Linked DNA regions of Homo sapiens: region 1 is linked to region 2. The links are contacts of gene promoters, found by promoter capture Hi-C in human tissues and cell types (Jung and others, 2019). All regions are on one chromosome and are shown on one strand. The core of a region is centred on a gene start or on the middle of the fragment in contact, and the rest is flanking DNA. Distances in the headings are between cores, read along the strand shown. Region 1 overlaps LOC105379314 (a long non-coding RNA gene). Region 2 holds the start of LZTS1 (leucine zipper tumor suppressor 1).

Region 1 (5,212 bases), core at 5-2,504, 51 kb before region 2:
AAGACACATGCACACGTATGTTTATTGCAGCAGTATTCACAATAGCAAAGACTTAGAACCAACCCAAATGCCCATCAATAACAGACTGGATAAAGAAAATGTGGCACATATACACCATGGAATACTATGCAGCCGTAAAGAATGAGTTCATGTCCTTTGCAGGGACAAGAATGAGTTCATGTCCTTTGCAGGGACATGGACGAAGCTGGAAACCATCATTCTCAGCAAACTAACACAGGAACAGAAAACCAAACACCGCATGTTCTCACTCATAAGTGGGAGTTGTACAATGAGAACATATGAGCGCAGGGAGGGGAACATCATACACTGCGGCCTGTCAGGCAATGGGTGGCAAGGGGTGGGATAGCATTAGGAGAAATACCAAATGTAGATGACAGGTTGATGGGTGCAGCAAACCACCATGGCACACGTATACCTATTTAACAAACCTGCATGTTCTGCACATGTATCCCAGAATTCAAGTATAATTAAAAAAAAAAAGAAATGAAAATCATCACACACACACACACACACACACACACACACACACACACACAAAAGAACGTCTGGAGGAAGGGCAATTAATTTATCAGGTGACAAGTCTTACAACTCAAGGCCTGCTGAGAGGAATGCCAGACAGATAAGAAACAATTTGCCAGGAGATCACTGAGAGGTTCCTGACACCCAGGAGGCCCAGGTGCCTGAGGAGGGGCAGCAAGCAGGCAGAGTAGATGAAGTCTACACACAGAGCACCTGTGACCCATGTTCCTCCCTGCCCCATCCGCAGGGGTGCCTGCTCCTCCAAGATTAGACTAAGGACAAAATAACCCAGCCTGAAGTCCCCAGGGACTGGACTCAGGTGTCTGGACTGAGGAAAATCCCTCTGGTACCCACTGTCCTTTCCTCTATGACACTCAACCAGCTGAGTACGGCCCCTAAACCAGCTCATCCGCTTCAAATATGGGCTCCAGCTATGACCAAAAGAAAGTGTCTTAACATGCGTGCTGTGAGTCCTCCGCAAAGTAGGGACAGTAATACGAATAGCTCCTGGCTACAGGACTTCAGTGACATCCACTTAGAGCACTGCCTGGCACCTTGGAAGGATCTGTAGCTGCTGGCACTTCCATCTTAAGAGATCTATACAGAGGAGACGACTTTTACATTTGTTTTTCTTTTCATTCCTGTTGAACTGCATGTTCTCTGGTAGGTCTTCGGACCATGGGGTTTCTTTGTGTCTGTCCTCAGGATATACTCCCAGCTTCTGAATTTAAATCTATGTTCCATGCAGTCTCCTGAATTCCATGGAAATGCCATCTCAACGAACTGGTCACAAATCTTCCAGGAAACTGAATTTCTCTCTTCCCTTCACTCCCCTTACCACTATCCCTGCCAACATGTTCTTCCCATGAACATCGCTCCAACCCACAGCTCCAGCACCATATCCCACTGAGGGTAGGATTCCCATCCCCAGGCCCCTGTGGAGAGGGCAGGGCAGCTGGCTCTGCTGGGTGCACTTCTCAGTTTCTTTTCATCAGCATATCTGATGTCCAATTGTATTTTGAGTACTTCACTTTCATGCAGTTAATTATTTAGTTTTAACCTACAAGATTTGCAGGAAGATCTTTGTTTTCATGAAACCAACTATCATCTGCAAATTAAAAACAGTTGCTGTCAAGTACTCAGATCTGAATGTGTGTGCAGGATGTTACCTGTTACATTCAACAGGGTGTGATGGTTGGTCAAGAGGGTTAGCGATTGCCTTTCACGAAACTGTAAACACCACCCCCTCTGTCTAGCAAATGGCCCAGCTCTAGCTTGTGTGGCCAGTGGGTGGGGACAGGAGAGAGGAAAAGGAAAAGGAGGAGGTGATGCCCCGTGATGGGTCCCCAGCAAACTTTTCCCTCGGCCCTCACCCCACCCCATCCCAAAGCTCTTCCTCATGATGACACAGGATTATTTATTTTGGGAAAATGTGACAGGGAGGGGCTGAACGGTGTGAGGTGGGTAAGATGCTTGCATCGTACTGCCTGGGTTTGAATCCTGGTTCTGCTCCACAGTAGCGACTGACCTTCAGTAAGACACTTATTGACTTCCCTGGGCGTCAGTTTTCTCATCTGTAAAATGGTGCCATGAATAGTACCTGTCTCATAAAATTGTTATAAAGTGTATGTGGGATAAATTATCTAGTCCAAAATTTTAAATTTAGGGACCAGTTGGAGAGTCTAAGCAGACAAAGAGAGAGAGAGATCACTTACCCAAGGGCAAAGGGCTAATTGTAGCTTGGGGACTAAATCCAAATCTCCAGGCTCCCAGTTCAAAACACGTCCCCCCACCAGAGCATGAATGGTCCTAAGCACACTCTATTAAAATGCAAATGTTCCCCAGGAGGTTTAACTCCAAGTTATTAGCACCTTAATGTGAGGGATGTGAATTGGGTTAACATGCTTCTTTTTTCTTTTAATTGAACTCGATCTGGTTCAAAAGGAGTACAGAAGGGGAGTGGGAGGGGGGAAATTGAGCCCATGATTTTGGCAGGGCTCTAATACTGCATCTTGCATCAGGAAAAAAGCATCCCTTTGCCCACTATCAGGGAACAAGGTGGAGATTCAGGCTCCAGGATCAGGCACACAATGAAAAGCACTGCTCCCAAATATTTGGCATCTGAGAAAGAAACTGGGATCCAAAACTGGAGTTTTAGGTGGGCCTGGGTGTTGCCCATGCAGAAGGAGAAGCCTGTGTGCCCAAGCAGAAGGAGACAGAGAGCACTCCAGAGTCCCCAGCAGCTGTCCTGGAAATGAGATGGCAAGGGCAAGACAAGGCGTGAATTCTCCACTCAATCACTCACTCACTCACTCATTCAGCCACATATCGTGATTGTCAGAGGCGTGTAAACCAGAGCAACTCCATCTTAAGTAGGGGCTGGGTAAAATGAGTCTGAGACCTACTGGGCTGCATTCCCAGACACTTAAGGCATTCTAAGTCCCAGGATGAGATAGGAGGTCAGCACAAGATGCAGGTCACAAAGACCTTGCTGATAAAACAGTTTGCAGTAAAGAAGCTGGTCAAATCCCACCAAAAACAAGATGGAGATGAGAGTGACCTCTGGTCATCCTCACTGCCACACCACCACCAGCACCACGACAGTTTACGAATGCCATGGCAACATCAGGAAGTTACCCTATATGCTTTAAAAGGGGGAGGCATGAATAATCCACCCCTTGTTTAGCATGTAATCAAGAAGTAACTACAAAAATGAGCAACCAGCAGCCCTCGGTGCTGCTCTCTCTATGGAGTAGCCATTCTTATATTCCTCCACTTTTTTAATAAACTTAATAAAAGGATCGGGACCCCTTTCCTGTAACAAAAGCATCTGCTCTATGCCAGAAACGAATGGCGGTCTCAGACCTCAGGGAATGGACGCTCTCACATTCCTTAAGCACCGGCAGTCTTGTGAGCTGCTAATGGTGGAAGTGATGTCTAATCCAAGCATTGAAGCCTCAACCCAACAACCAAGATGTAGCCCAAAAAATCCAGTGGCAATCCTGTGGTCCCCTCCTTCAAGGAAGGTGAGGCTACAGTTAAGTCGCTGAAGTTCCTCAGCTTCCCCACTACTTTGAGAGAAAATACAAATACTAGGTTGTTTTTTGTTTTTCTTCTTAATCTTCTAAGTTTAGACCTGCTTCTCTGAGATCCTTACGTAGGGAACAGTGGACTAGAGAAAATACAAGAAGGGAAATATCTTGTCAAAGAGGGGATGCCTTCTTTTCATTATTCAACTCATATTTGCAAGGACTAACTATGACTTTAAAATAATATCTCATTTGATCCTCACGAATTCTATGAAGGATAAAGATTACAAAAGGTGTGTTTGTTACCCAAGGCCTACATAAGGGGCAGAACGGGGAATTGAAGCCAGCTTAAGCTGATCCCAAAGCACAGGCTCTTCCTGTGTGTGGCTTCACACTGCCTCTCCATGGCGCCCCTCAGTCCCCTATGCATTTGTTCCTTCACCTCCTCGCTACTCAAATGCATTCTCTACACAATTTGCCCTGCCCTACAGTAGTGGTCCCCAATCATCTTGTAGAGTTAACAAATCACCCAGCATCCCTACCAAATCATCTCTGTTTAAGAAAAAATTCCTCAAACCAGCCAAGCGCGGTGGCTCACGCCTGTAATCCCAGCACTTTGGGAAGCCGAGGCGGGCGGATCACCTAAGGTAGGGAGTTTGAGACCAGCCTGACCAACATGGAGAAACCCGGTCTCTACTCAAAATACAAAATTAGATGGAGGTGGTGGCGCATGCCTGTAATCCCAGTTACTCGGGAGGCTGAGGCAGGAGAGTCGCTTGAACCTGGGAGGCGGAGATTGCAATGAGCCGAGATCGTGCCATTGCACTCCAGCCTGGGCAACAAGAGTGAAACTCCGTCAAAAAAAAAAAAAAAAAAAAGAAAAGAAAATTCCTAAAACCAAAAGTCACCACGAACTCTGTGATGCTTTACAATTAATTCACATTTTAATAATCACAACAGTATCCATGCACATTTGAGAAATAGCCTCATGGGGAATCATGATATATTCACCCTGTCTAAAATGCTTCCTGTGCCCAGGCATTAGAAAATTCCCTAGAAATAATTCACCACGAAGTCCCCAGAGGTTGGAACTGGCTAAAGATTCTTTCCATCCCATAATCTGTCTACCTACTGGACCAGGGAGATCGGGTAGTTGGAAAGTAGTGTGCATCTTTCTTCTTTCTTGTGTATTCCCAGCTAGCATCCCCCCTCCAGCATGGTCAGTGCTGCCCTACCCTCTCCTGGCCTGGGGGAGCTCATAGAAGGCCCAAATTTGTTCTGACCGTATCTTCTTTTGGTAACAGTAAACAACTCAACAGCAAAAACATTTTATAGTACCTGACAGTCTACACTGCAGATTTACCAATATTTATTCATTTCATGCTCAAATAGACCGCATGGAAGTGGGTGGTAAGCCCGCCATTTTTGTCAACAAACAGGCTGGGTGAGGCTGAAGCAGCTCGCCTAAGGTTGCTCAGCTAGTGAGTGGGAGAACAAGATCTCAAACCCCAGGTGTGAGTGTGACTCCTTCTCTTTCTACACCCTCTAGCTTCCTCTCCCCAGCCACTCCCTCTCGCCCTCTCGCGCTCTCGCGCTCTCGCCCTCTGGCCCTCTGGCCCTCTCTCCCTCTCGCCCTCTCGCCC
Region 2 (5,172 bases), core at 1,946-4,445:
AGGTCCTAGAGATGAAGCATGATGCTCTGTATCTCAGGTGATGAATACAGGAGGAGGGTAGGAGATTTTTACAAGAAATGTTTTGTGACCCAGCTTTCTAGACTCGACTCAGGCAAGGGAGAGCCTGAGGGATGCAGAGTTTCACATAAGACACCTCTCGGGAACCCAGACACTAAGGAAGGGCAGCGCCCCTTCACTAGACAAGGAAGAAAAGGAGCCACACTGAGAACCTACCGGTGGTGTTGGGGGTAGACACACCCAGCCATTGCATTACCATACCCAACTGCTGAATCAGGGAGCTAATTATGGCTTTGTGCTGCTGGAGACCACATTCCTGAGGCTTTCATGCACACATACGGAACCATAATACATACACACATGCTGTGCTGTCCATCACTGGTCTCCTTCTCCACTCTGCCTTCTCATTTCCAGCCCCACTCTCTATGCATTCTGTCTCTAAAGTATCCCTTCCACAGGGTGTTTCTGTTGTTCCATAGGGTATCCCATTTCCACCGCTCATACACAAACCAACACACTGCTCATACCCTTTGCCTGACTCAGTCATTCCAGGAAGGCTGCACATCATACCCAGCTTTCACCTAGAATGTCACTGACAAAGGTGTCAGTGCTGAAGGAGGGTCCTTAAGGAGTATCTTCTCATCCAAACCATCCACTTTCCAGATGAGGAAACTGAGGCCTCATCAGGGACTCCAAACCATCCACTTTCCAGATAGGAAACTGAGGTCTCATCAGGGACTCCAAACCATCCACTTTCCAGATGAGGAAACTGAGGCCTCATTAGGGACATGGCTTGTCCAAGAGCATATAGTCAGCAGTAGGGCCAGAACAAAAAGTGGGCTTCCAGAGTCCTTTGTCTCTTCCATGGAATCTCACCTCCGACGATGTGAAAATGAGTTTGAAGTCTGGAGCCCACCTCATACCTTAATCTACCTTCCAGGAGTCTGCTCTTTCCTTAAAGCGCTGGAATGTTTGATCGATATTAACTCATTCAGCTAAAATTCTTGAGATACTCTCACCAGCAAGCAAGAATACATGTTCTCTGTCAATAAATGCAACACAAAGAAGCATGGCGCTTTAGAAAAAGAAGACATTATTTTGCCCTGGACGATAAGAGAAGGTGTGAGTAAGGGTTCCATATTTTGTCTCAGATTTTGAGAGGTAGAGTTAGAAGAGCAGGAGAAAAGCTTTTCAGACTGAGGGGCAGGTTTATACAAAGGTGGGGAAAAGGAGGTGATGTTCAGGAAAAGGCTGAGTAGCCTTTGGGGTTGACACTTAGAAATTGTCGTATTGCTTGTAATTACTGCCACGTGTATGTACTTACCGCAAGGCAGTGGGTTTCATTTAATCATCAGAACAAACCTATACATGAGAAATTCATTCATTTAACAAATACATATTGAGTGCCTACTATGTTGCCTGGCAAGTTCTAGGTGTCGGGGATACATCTATGAATAAAACAGACCAAGTCCCTCAGCCACCAATAAAAGAGAACAAGTTCCTGCCTTCAGGGAATTTACACTGGGACTTGTTACCTCATTTCACAAATAAAAAAAGAAAGAAAGAAAAAGAAAAACTGAGAAAGAGGGAGGGGAAGGTAATGGCTCAAATAACAAGCAGCGAAGCCTGTCTGTGTTCTTAAACCCTCGCGGTGCCATCTTTCAGGAAGCCTAGATTCGAAGGTCAGAGTCTTCAGGGTCAACAACCGAAGGCAGTGAGATTCCCCTACAGGGTTTTGAGCAGGGGTGTGGCAGAAACCATATGGCTTGTTTTCCTTTGAGCTGTCCCCCCTGCCACCACAATTCTATTTAATTTTTTTGTATTTATTTATTTATTTATTTATTTTGAGACACGGTGTCACTCTGTCACCCAGGCTGGAGTGCAGTGGCACTATCTTGGCTCACTGCAACCTCTGCCTTCCAGGCTCAAGCAATTCCCAAGCCTCAGCCTCCCAAGTAGCTGGGATTACAGGCTCCTGCCACCACACCCAGCTAATTTTTGTATTTTTTTTTTTTTTTTTTTTTAGTAGAGACGGGGTTTCACCATGTTGGCCAGGCTGGTCTTCAACTCCTGACCTCAAGTGATCCACCAACCTCGGCCTCCCAAAGTGCTGAGATTACAGGCATGAGCCACCGCGTCCGGCCCCCATGCTATTTATAATCAGATCGGCTATGTCAATCCTAATCCATTACATCTATCCCCCACCCCCCAACACACACACACACACACACACACACACACACACACACACACAGGCTTCTTTCAAGATGAGGCTAACACTCCTTGGGCAGAGCTGCCATCTTCCCGCCAAGCCTGGTTTTAGAGGATTAGCCTCAGTGCACCCTCAAGCCCCCAAGCCTCATGCTGCACCTAGCACTCCGGTTAACTGACCCTTTGTCCTACAAAACCTTGTAAGCTTGAATCCTCTCCTGGCTCAGTTGCTAGAAGTTAAAAGTGAGGGTGGTTGAGAAAATGATAGTATTATAAGGGGACTGGGTGAGACTAATAGCTATAAACTTGAAACAGGCCTCTGCTGTCACCTGAAACTCAGCTCCCTCAGAGCTGGAAAAGTTTGCTTTTGACATGTTTTGGGAGTGGGAGTCCCGGTGCTCTGGACTCTAGCCTGTAATCCTGGTGTGGTTCGCAATGCCCCTCACTTGGGTGCTAGTCCAGTCCTTGAACAAAACACACGCCCTTTAGTGCGAGTCGGGAGCGGGAGAGACGGTATTAAGAAAAATAAACTGGCGATTAAGAGGAAGGGGTAATGAAGAAAGGGGAACATACACAGAACGGGAGAAGGAATGGATTTTAAACAAAACTGGAGTAAGAATTTCAGGTAATGAAAGGGAAAAAAGGATGCGACAAGAGCAAGACAGGAACAATCGGAGAAAGGGGGCCAGGCAAGAAAGGAAGACTGAGGGGGCAGGGTCGCCCAATGGGGCTGATGGAAGTGAGAGCAGAGAGACGGGACCCGGGACCCCGCGCAGGCCGCGGGCGCGAAGGAGCCGCGAGGTCGCGAGCAGCCCCAGCTGTCAGCCCGGAACAAAGGCCGCCGAGCGGCACAGACCAGGCTGCCGGCAGCTCGCTGCCAATCAGCGGCGCCGGCTCTGGCCCCGCCCCGGGCCGGCCCCGCCCCGCCCCGCCCCGCCCCGCCCCGCCCCGGCTCCGGGACCCGCGCAGAGGCCGGCGCGCCTGGAGCTGGCGGGTTGGCAGCGGCCGGGCGGGGAGGCCGAAAGTTTCTCTGCCCGCCTCGGCCAGTGAGTGGGAGCCGGGAGCTGCATCCCGCGCAGTGGGACCGGCCCGGCCCGCTCAGCAGCTCTGGAAAAAGAGAGACGGGAACACACCGGGAAACACTGGGAAAAAAAAAAAGTCTCAAGTGCGCCCGAGGCGCAGGGGGCAGGTAAGGTGCGGTGGCCGGGGATCTCCTCGCCCCTGGAGGGTCTGCTGCCCTGGCTGCGGGAAACCGCTTTCCCCTCGCCGGGCCGGACCGTCCGTGCGTCCGCGCGTCCGTCGGTCTTTGTCTGTCTGTGTCCGTGGCTGTCGAGGTGTCTTTGTCTCCGCGTGGAGCTGTCAGGGTCTCCCCTCTGCAGGGTGGGCGCCGCTTCTCCGGCCCGGCCCAGAGGAGGTGACTGTGCGTCTGTCCTCCTGTCTTTGTCTTCGTGTCTCCTGCAGACGGGGTTCGTCTATTCCCAGCACCGATGCTGATCCTGGCGGGGACGTCAGTGTTAGGTGACACTGGTGTCGGAGGTGAAGAAGTGGGAGGTGGGGACGCGAGGCCGCAGGAGCAGGGGCCGCAGGAAGAGGGTCCGGCGGTCGGTCCGGGCCGCTGAACTTCGCCGCCTGGAACTTTGCAGATGAGCTGTGTCCACACCGGTGGGGAGGACACCGGTGCGTTGCAGCCAGAGATTTGAAAGGTTTCCCTCAAGGAATAAGTCACACGGGCGGAGGTGGTTAGAGAGGAAGGTGGTAAATCGAAGTGTCTAAGTGGCTCCCTGGGGCTGCAGCTTCCTGGGGTCGGTCCTGGATGTGCAATTCAGGAATTTAGTCAAAGCACCATGCACACACAGACAGCCCCACACTACCTTCACTTCTTCCACCGCCACCCTAGGCAGCCAGACCTCACCCCTCCACCCTGCCACAGGCTTTGCTCTGGCTGGAGGGGCTTCAGAGGTCGCAGCTTGGCAGCAACAGGCATCCCCGAGACACCAAGGGCCAGGTGATGTCTCTTTTTCGTGCTCCAAGTGGAAAGGTTTGAACTGTGGAGCAAATGAGCCTTGTGCTCGCCCACGAGTATGTCAGGCCTGGGAAAGTGCTCCAGACTTGTTAGCTTCGCAGTCTTCAATTTCCCAGGAATAAGAAGTGCTTAGGGATCTGGCCTCCTAAAGTGTTTCCTGTCTCACTTATTCCCTCCACACCGTCCCGCTGCCATCAGCCCCTCTACTCTCTGGTCCCGGGCGCTGGGAAAGTACTGAGGAGGCACTGAGTTCTGGACCATGCCGGGCAGGCGCTGCTCCTAATAAGGATCCCACACTCTGCTGGAAGTGCAGCCTAATAGGAATGCTGGGAGCCCAGGAGCCCAGCCACAAAGAGATGAGCTATCTGCTTGGCAGTTCCTGCACCAAGACCCTGAGAAGAGTCTGCGGGTACCGGCAAGAGGGTGTTTGCAACCTGAGCTTTCTCTAAGTTCAAAAACAATTTTCTGCAGGCATCCAGAGGGAGAATGGAGGTGCCCGAAGAGTGTGCGCATATGGGTATTAGAGATAGCATGTACAGACGGGAAAGGTGTTTGTGTTTAAGAGTGGAGTGGAACATAGTCTGTGGGTAGAAGTCTGTGGGCAGAGAGCATGCAGGCTAATCAGGCGTGGCGTTACACCTTGTATTTATCCAGCGCTTTTCTTTGGAGGCTCTTTCTGCTCATCATAGACGTTATCTCATACGTTATCTCCTTTATCCTCACAACATAACTACCAGGTTGGTGCGGTGGGCTCTCTGTGCCTGCCAGTGAAGAAACGGAGGCGTCAGAAGGGAAAGGCTTTCCCTAAGGTCCCACAGCTAATAGGATGGAGCAACTGGGAGTCCTAGTAAGAGGTCTCAGCTGGGTGGATGTGAGTGTGGGGCGCTCACTCTGCTTAAGAAGAGAAGAAAACTAGTAGA

What was found. The method cuts DNA at HindIII sites, captures the fragments that hold promoters and counts their contacts. A contact is called where the count stands out against the background at its distance.
Region 1: a contact is called between a fragment that was not itself captured here and the fragment with the promoter of LZTS1 in region 2, in 1 of the 25 tissues and cell types used here (stomach).

What each region holds. Positions count from the first base shown.
Region 1 is chr8:20,350,506-20,355,717 of GRCh38, reverse strand. The region is part of intron 1 of LOC105379314 (a long non-coding RNA gene); the gene reads right to left. Among named protein-coding and RNA genes, the nearest start is that of LZTS1, 49 kb to the right of the region's middle. RefSeq lists enhancers at 366-889, 2,040-2,662. The HindIII fragment of the contact is 5,426 bases long and covers 1-3,967 here.
Region 2 is chr8:20,301,986-20,307,157 of GRCh38, reverse strand. LZTS1 (leucine zipper tumor suppressor 1) reads left to right here and starts at 3,195. Exons shown (of 4, transcript NM_021020.5): 1 at 3,195-3,418. RefSeq lists a silencer at 3,136-3,205. The HindIII fragment of the contact is 20,395 bases long and covers 1,821-5,172 here.